Linked DNA regions of Homo sapiens: regions 2 and 3 are each linked to region 1. Evidence: promoter capture Hi-C in human tissues and cell types (Jung and others, 2019). All regions are on one chromosome and are shown on one strand. Each heading gives the region's core, a stretch centred on a gene start or on the middle of the fragment in contact. The rest is flanking DNA. Distances are from core to core; before and after follow the strand shown.

Region 1 (2,700 bases), core at 192-2,691:
GTCATCAGAATATGAGTTTCACACTTTTTTTGTAAAATTTATTCTTAAGTAGTTCATTTTTGATACTATTATAAAGTTTCTTTCATAATTTCATTTTTGGTTTGCTCACTGCTACTGTATAGAAATAGAACTTTTTTTTTGTATTTATCCTGCATTTGTTATGGAGCTCATTTATTAGTTCTAATAGTTTCGTAGTTGATTCCATACGATTTTCTGTATACAAGATCATGTCTTCTGTGAATACAGATCATTTTACTTCTTTCTTTCCAAGCTTGATATCTTCTACTTTTGTTTCTTGTGTAATTGCCATAGCTAGAACTTCCAGTACAATGTTGAACAGAAATGGCAAAAGTGGACATCCTTGTCTTATTCCTGATGTTAGGGATGAAGCAGTCAGTCTTTCACCATTAAATATAGTAGCTTTGGGTTTTCAATATCTTCTATCAGGTTGATAAAGTTTCCTTCCATTCTTAGTTTGTCACACATTTTTATCACAAAGCCTGTTGAATTTTGTCAAATGCTTTTACTAGATTAGAATGATCATGTGATCTTTGTCTTTTATTCTGTTGATGTGATTGTTACATTGATTTATGGGTGGTAAACCAATCTTACATTTCTGGGTAAAATCCAAATATTTCTTTTTTTTTCCTTTTCTCTGACAGGGAATTGAACCTGGGCTGTGGCAGTGAGAGTGCTGAATTCTAACCACTAGACAAGCAGGGACCAAATACATATTTCTTAAATTGAATTTATCATGAGCACATTATATGAGGATTGGGTAAAAAGTAACTAAAAAAATGGCCAAAGAAACAAGATGGAAAATAACTTCCATTTTCAGATAGTAACTATTTAGGAAACATTGAAACTTTGGAAGTGAAATTGTTATTGTGTAAATATTTTAAAAAAGCATGTTTATACATCTTTCACACTCTTTGAGTCTTATATTTTTCCTTTAAAGTCTTGGAACTAGACCTTTATGATATTCTAAATTTAATAACACTTAACAACTTGCCCTAAATATCCCTACTTTATAACAATTACTGTAGTGGTTTCCTCATAGATTTGTTTTTTCCCCATCCCCCACACCCTTCCCAAGTACACACCCTTCCCAAGTATTATCCCAAGTGAGACTATCATTATCATCTATTATTCTTATTGGACATTTTAAAGTACCTGTACAAAAATGGCATTAGTTAGGGATATAGTAAAGTTACTTCTAGTCTTTTAATTGGCTTCTGCCCTTGGCGCTGTTTGAGCAAAGAGAAGAGACCCTCATAGAGAACTCTAAGGACAAAAAAACTTACTTTTAATTGTGACCCCAAGAATTATCAATATCTCTATTAACAGAGACAAGGGCTTCATCTTCTCTTAAGCAGCTTCTCTTCACTGTAACACAGGCAGAAACTAGGTGATTGGCCCAAGAGCTCCTCTTCTCAGGGACTGTGGTGGGGGCAGGAGTCAGTTGCTAAGCAACCATTTCCTTACTCTTGGGCCAATGGGCTGCCAGAGTGTTCCTTTCAAGCCGGAATGAAGGCAGCTGCTGGAGAATGTAGGCTGTGGAAAGGATCCACTGCTATTCCTCTGGCTGAAGATAAGGGGTAGGCTAGAAATTAGGGGTGGCTCTCTAACATGAAAGGAAGGGACCAGAAGTCCGACTCGTACGTGTCCACACGTTCAACTGTGTTCAGGGGTGCTGGAAGTTCTTATTTTTATGTTGCCTCTAGAGGTACAAACTACACTTATGTAAAAACACAATTAAGGTACATGAACTGATCTGACATCATCCTGTAAGCTGGTATCTCTAGGCTATGGCGGAAAAGAAACAATGGGCCAAGTCTGCTTTGTTCCCAATCTGGATGAAAATCTTTATCCTCTTTTCCAGTTAGAAACTGCTGAGGATTTACTGGAACAAAGGCAAACAAAGACTGTTTAACAATGTCTTTACATACCTCAGATAATACAGACATCTCACAAGTGGTACCTTCAAAGCTACGAGAAATCAAAATGAATATTTAGGGAAAACATATAAATATTAAAAATATCCAAGGCACAGAGCTAGTTGAGAAATTATGCCTACAAAAAATATCCAACTTTTACAGTCTGTCCAGGTCATTACTTTAGAAATAGACATTTTATTGTTTTGAATTTACAGTTTTATTCCTTTTATTAGTTTCCCATTGCTGTGATAACAAATTACCACAAACGTAATGGGTTAAAACAACAGGAATTTATTCTCTCATAGTTCTAGAGACCAGAATTCCAAAACCATTCTTACAGGGCTAAAATCAAAGACAAGGCTAGCTCCTCCTGGAGGCTCCAGGGAAGAATCCATTCTTGGCCTGGAATTTTTCAGCTTCTAAGTGGCTGCCAGCATTCCTTGATTTGTGACCACATCATTTCAGTCTCTGCTCAGTCATCACTTGCCTTCTGTAGTTTAATCTCCCTTTGTGCCCCTCTTATAAAGATACTTGTGATTACATTTAGGGCCCACCAACATGATCCAGAACAATCTCTCTCTCTCTCAAGATCCTTAATGTTGGCTGGGCGTGGCAGCTCACACTTGTAATCCCAGCACTTTGGGAGCCTAAGGCAGTTGGATTACTTGAGGCCAGGAGTTCGAGACCAGGCTGACCACCATGGCGAAACCCCGTGTCTACTAAAAATACAAAAATTAGCTGGACGTGGTGGTATGCGCCTGTA
Region 2 (2,729 bases), core at 153-2,652, 150 kb before region 1:
GCATGATCTCGGCCTCACTGCAACCTCCACCTCCCGGATTCAAGCAATTCTCCTGTCTCAGCCTCCCGAGTAGCTGGGATTGCAGGCATCTGCCACCATGCCCAGCTAATTTTTGTATTTTTAGTAGAGATGGGGTTTTCACCATGTTGGCCAGGCTGGTCTTGAACTCCTGACCTCAGGTGATCCACCCGCCTCGACCTCCCAAGTGCTAGAATTACAGGTGTGAGACACTGCCCCCGGCCATGGGTCCATGTGTTCTTGTTGCTAAATGATGTGGGGAACAGTACAAGACAGTGGGAGAGCCTGGAAGAACTTGGAGTAATTTTCAGGTAAAGCTCATTGAAGTTGCTGAAAATGAAACAATGTCAAGGTGACATTCGTGGCCAGACAATTTGTGAAGGTTTATTTTTAATAATGGGAGTTCTGGGTTTTCTAATCACTTACTCGAAGATAGGATAAAATGCAATGTAAAATTAAAATTTGAAAATTCAAAACCATGAATTTTCTAGACCATGAGTCTCCAGTCAGTAACTACCTGACTAGCAGGATGGTTTGGAAGGGTTTTTCCCACACTTTAATACCTAGCCCAGCGCCACCCAGTGCTAAACTAATAAGGGGGTAACTTTGATATTAAAACCCAAAGCTGGGAGCTGGACACACTGGTGTGTGCCTGTAGTCCCAGCTACTCAAGAGGCTGAGGCAGGAGAGTCACTTGAACACAGGAATTCCAATCCAGCCTGGGCCACATAGTGAGACCCCATCTCTAAAGAAAAAAGAAAAACTGGGAAGAAGTAGATGCTCTTTGTGCATAATAAGGCTTAGGGAACACATGAGCATAAGATCGACCATCACAGTTCACGAGAAGTTCAATTTATTTATTTGATACATTCCCATCTAGAGGCCAGTCCATAGTGAGGGCTGCTTTTCTCACTCTCCACTCCAAGGATGCACAATTTCCTGTGTTCCCCCATCCAGCAGCAGAACCCTAGGGCAGAGGATGGCTGACAGCAACCCATGCTAAAGGTCATATCCCCACAGGAGGACCTCAGCCAGGAGCTGAGGCAGAGGAGCTAGGCTTATGGGGACTGTGGGTTCGGGAACGGAAATTGAATGAGGATGGGAGGTGGTTGAGAGGGTCTGGGGTGTGTCTCCCACCCACTGCGTGTCAGGAATGAATCTTGAGACACAGGAGTGGAGCCTGCACCTAGGGTGCCCCAGACAGAGAGTCCCAACCATGCTGGGACTCTGCATCTCTTGGCTCATGTCTCTTGAGCCAAAGCAAAGAACTAAGCATTATTCAAGAGTGTGTGTGTGTGTGTGTGTGTGTGTGCGTGTGTGTAGCGGCCAATGTGAGGGTGTGTGTGTGTTTAGCTAAGGAACAGAGGAGGACATCTCTTCCCCCCTCCACTTACCTTCACACATCTGCATTTCTTCAGTCTGAAAGGTGGGAAGATGAAGAGAGCCAGGCACGCGTCTAACTGGGCTGTCTAATCCTTGTTTTCCAAAACAGGCAGCTCAGGCTTGGGCTGCATTTTTTTTCTGCCAATTTTTGTACTGTAATTTATGTAACCATTGGTAGATTTTTAAACAGTATCTTTTATAGTAGGTTAAATATGGCTGCAAATTCTTTGCTACTTCTCTCACTGAGAGACGGAGTATAATGCCTGACTAACGGAACATGGTGGAAGGGATGTTCTGGAACTTCTGAGGCTTGGTCTTAGCAAAGCTGTGGCTTTTGCCTGTGTCTCTGTGAACATTCTCTGTGGGAATGCTGAGCTACAGTGTAAAAAGCCCAAATGCTCTGTCCACCATGCCAAGAGGCCGCATCTGGGATGTGGGTATACTGGTCAACAGTCACTGCTGAGTGAGTAAACCTGTCTTGGATTCTAGAACAGCCCATCCACTAAGTGACCAGAAGAATCACCTGACCACACCCTGCCCAAATTCCTGACCCACAAAATCTTGAGATAAAATGAAGTGATTGTTGTTTTAAGACCCTAACTTTTGGAGAAGTTTGTTAAGAAGCAAGCAATAACTGGAACCGTAACATAGAGGAAAGAACATCTGTGGTGTTAGATCTGGACTCAAATCACAGCTCCATTATTTATCAGCTACGTGATCTTTTCTAGCTTCTTCTGGCCTCAGTTTCCTCCTGTGTTAAACAGAGGTCATTCTAGCTACCTCCTAGCCTCATCATGAAGATGAAATGAGAAAACAGATGGAAACAGAGCCTGGCTCATAGCAGGTGCTTCAAAATGTTTCTTTCCTCTCTTCTCAGCCTCACCATGCCCTCTTCTCTAGGGCTTTCTGGGATGCCCAGTGAGGGGAATGCAGCAAACTATATAGCACCTCCACTACTCAAGATTTTGGAGAAAAGAATTCCAGGAGAATGTTACTGAGAAAATGACTCTGGACCCCTGCTCCAGAGAAACAAAATTATTTACCTGACTTGCCTTTGAAAAATGGATTTACTTGAAGAGCTACTCCAATTTAATGAAGAATTGGGGGAGGAAATCAAGGGAGTCACAAAAGCAAATTAGATTTTTTTTTTTTTTTTTTTTTTCCTGAGACAGAGTCTCACTCTGTCACCAGGCTAGAGTGCAGTGGTGTGATTTCGGCTCACTGCAGCCTCCGCCTCCTGGGTTCAAGTGATTCTCTTGCCTCAGCCTCCCGAGTAGCTGGGATTATAGGCGCCCGCCACTATGCTCGGCTAATTTTTGTATTTTTAG
Region 3 (2,753 bases), core at 47-2,546, 200 kb before region 1:
GCACGATCTCGGCTCACTGCAACCTCTGCCTCCCGGGTTTGAACGATTCTCCTGCCGCAGCCTCCCAAGTAGCTGGGATTATGGGGGTGCACCACTATGCCCTGCTAATTTTTGTATTTTTGGTAGAGATGGGGTTTCACCATGTTGGCAAGGCCGGTCTTGAACTCCTGCCCTCAGGTGATCCGCCTGTCTCGGCATCCCAAAGCGCTGGGATGACAGGCGTGAGCTACTGCGCCCAGCCTTAAAGTGGAATTTCTTTTTTTTTTTTTTGAGACAGAGTCTCGCTCTGTTGCCCAGGCTGGAGTGCAGTGGTGCAATCTCAGCTCACTGCAAGCTTTGCCTTCCAGGTTCATGCCATTCTCCTGCCTCAGCCTCCCGAGTACCTGGGTCTACAGGTGCCCGCCACCACGCCTGGCTAATTTTTTGTATTTTTTAGTAGAGACGGGGTTTCACCGTGTTAGCCAGGATGGTCTTGATCTCCTGACCTCATGATCTGTCCGCCTTGGCCTCCCAAAGTGCTGGGATTACAGGCGTGAGCCACCATGCCCAGCCTCATAAAGTGGAATTTCTACGTAAAATCTGCTTAGATAAAACCATAGACTTGGGCCAGGGTGAGGAAGGGAGTGGTGGGGCTCCTAAAACACTATTATTGGTAATAGTAAATGCCATAGAAATGGTGCAGTCATTAAAGTGCAACAGGAATTAGGGGAAAAGAAAAAATCAGTAGGAGTTCATGTGGTCAAGGATTCTCAGGGGGCACAGAATCTGACCTGGGATTTGAAAGAATTTGAGTTGGTGGTTCCTAGCATTGGAAATCAGGGCATGGCAGGAGGAAAGGCACAGAGGTAGAATGCTGTAGGGTGTGATATAGTGATGTTTAAGGAAGATTAATCTGGGGATGGCATTCGAGAAAGATTGAAGAAGAGAAAGGGTAGAGAAACCCATCAGAAGGCTGTGTTAAAGGCATTGCAGGCATGAGAAATAAAGGCCTGCCACCCATGCAGAGCCAGCACATATAAATGATGGGATGTATGAGAGAGACCTGGAAGTATCAACAGAACTTGATGACTGATCAGATATGGTAGGCAGAGCAAATCTATTCTTTTAGTAACTCAACGCCAAAAAACATTTTTATTGATTCCTCTTATATCCTTCTCTCCCACATCTAATCCGTCAGCAGCTTTTATTTGCATTTCAAAATATAACCAAACTCTTATGTCTTCTTGCCACCTTCCCCATCACCGTGCTGTTCAGCTATCATCGCCCCTTGCCTAGATTATTGCAGTAGCCTCCTATTGGTCTCCCTGCTTTACCTTTGTCCCTGACAGTCTGTTGTCATGGCAAAGTATCCTCGTAAAACACAAATCAAATCATTGTCAGTCCTCTGCCCAGAACTGTTAGTTTGTCATCTAGTTTAGTAGTAATCCAGAGTCCTAATCTATAAGACCCTCAGGATTCTGTTTTTTTATCATGTCTCTGATCCCATCTTCTTCCTTTCACTCCCAACTTTTCAGCAACCCTGGCCTCCTTGCAGTCTCTCAAACAGGCCAGAGCTTTGCTCTATGCTCTTCCCCAAGGTATCTGTGTGTCTTAGTTGCTCACCTGTCAGATCTTTACTCAGCTGACTTCATCAAAGATTCCTCCCGTGACTGCTTTAGAAAATAGTGCCCCTGCTTTCTGCCGACTAGTTGCTTTATTTGCTTCCATAGCACTTACAAGCTCCTGATGTATGTTTATTTGGTGTCTTTCTTCTCTTACTGGATTTGCTCATTTTTGATCACTACTAAATCCTAGTACCTAAATCACAATGAGTATTTATTAAATGACTATTGCAAGATAACTTTAGAGTTTAAGTTACACCTTTTGTGACTGGAAAATTCAGGGGATGTGATGTGGCAAGGAGCACGGGATCATTCCTGTTTTAGATATGTTGAGTTTGAGATGGCAGTGGAATATGGTAGTATAAATAGCTGGCAGGTAGTTGGAAATGTGGAACTGGAATTGGGATATTGAGGTTAAGAGCATTGACTTGAAGTCAGGGCTTCAAACTTCAGCTCTGCCACTGTCTGTGTATACTCAGACCTTGGGCCAATCAATTGCTCTAGACCTCAGTTTCTATAAAATATGATCAATAATACCCATCTCAAAAGGTTGGTAAGGGGATTAAGTGAGGCAAAGTAAACCTGTCAAAGGAGGCTATAGTTCTTATTTGGAAGTCCCTTTCAGAAGTGACAATTGAAGCCGTAGAAATAGGTAAACTCTCTGAGGCAAGAATATAGAAAAGAACCTTCTGCAATTGTACTTAGGGTTGGGAGAAAGAGGAAGAGCCAATAAAGATGCCAGGAATAGTAAGATGGAAAGTGTCTTAGTAAGGTATCTTTTGATTGTTGAAAGCAAAAATGTGCTGAAGCCAGTTTAAACACAGAGACATTTGTTACAGAGAGGCTCTTATGTAACTCAGGGATCCAGAAATAGAGCCAGGCCTCACAAGAGATGGGAACTTTGAAACACCATAACAATGTTCCTCCTGTTCGCATGCACTCTGGTACTACATGAATGCTGTCTGGTTGCCTTCATTCTTTTTACTCCCTGTAGTCTATCCATAGTAGTGTTCATCAGTGTGTGTGGCCCCATATGAATATGCTACACCCAAGGGTAGCTGAAGCTAGCTTAGGCCAGCCTGTGAGAGCCAATTGTTAGCATCTCTTCCCAACCTCTGTTCTGTGACATCATATTGATAGCTTGACATCAGC

What was found. The method cuts DNA at HindIII sites, captures the fragments that hold promoters and counts their contacts. A contact is called where the count stands out against the background at its distance.
Region 2: a contact is called between a fragment that was not itself captured here and the fragment with the promoter of SEL1L2 in region 1, in 2 of the 25 tissues and cell types used here (mesendoderm cells and pancreas).
Region 3: a fragment that was not itself captured here is called in contact with the fragment with the promoter of SEL1L2 in region 1 in 1 of the 25 tissues and cell types used here (mesenchymal stem cells).

What each region holds. Positions count from the first base shown.
Region 1 is chr20:13,989,173-13,991,872 of GRCh38, forward strand. SEL1L2 (SEL1L2 adaptor subunit of SYVN1 ubiquitin ligase) reads right to left here and starts at 1,442. Exons shown (of 20, transcript NM_025229.2): 1 at 1,305-1,442. The coding sequence starts at 1,362. It also overlaps the pseudogene TRE-CTC10-1. The HindIII fragment of the contact is 28,140 bases long and covers 1-2,700 here.
Region 2 is chr20:13,843,059-13,845,787 of GRCh38, forward strand. No RefSeq gene overlaps it. Among named protein-coding and RNA genes, the nearest start is that of NDUFAF5, 59 kb to the left of the region's middle. The HindIII fragment of the contact is 5,333 bases long and covers 1-2,729 here.
Region 3 is chr20:13,789,224-13,791,976 of GRCh38, forward strand. The region is part of intron 3 of NDUFAF5 (NADH:ubiquinone oxidoreductase complex assembly factor 5); the gene reads left to right. Among named protein-coding and RNA genes, the nearest start is that of NDUFAF5, 5.6 kb to the left of the region's middle. The HindIII fragment of the contact is 3,687 bases long and covers 1-2,753 here.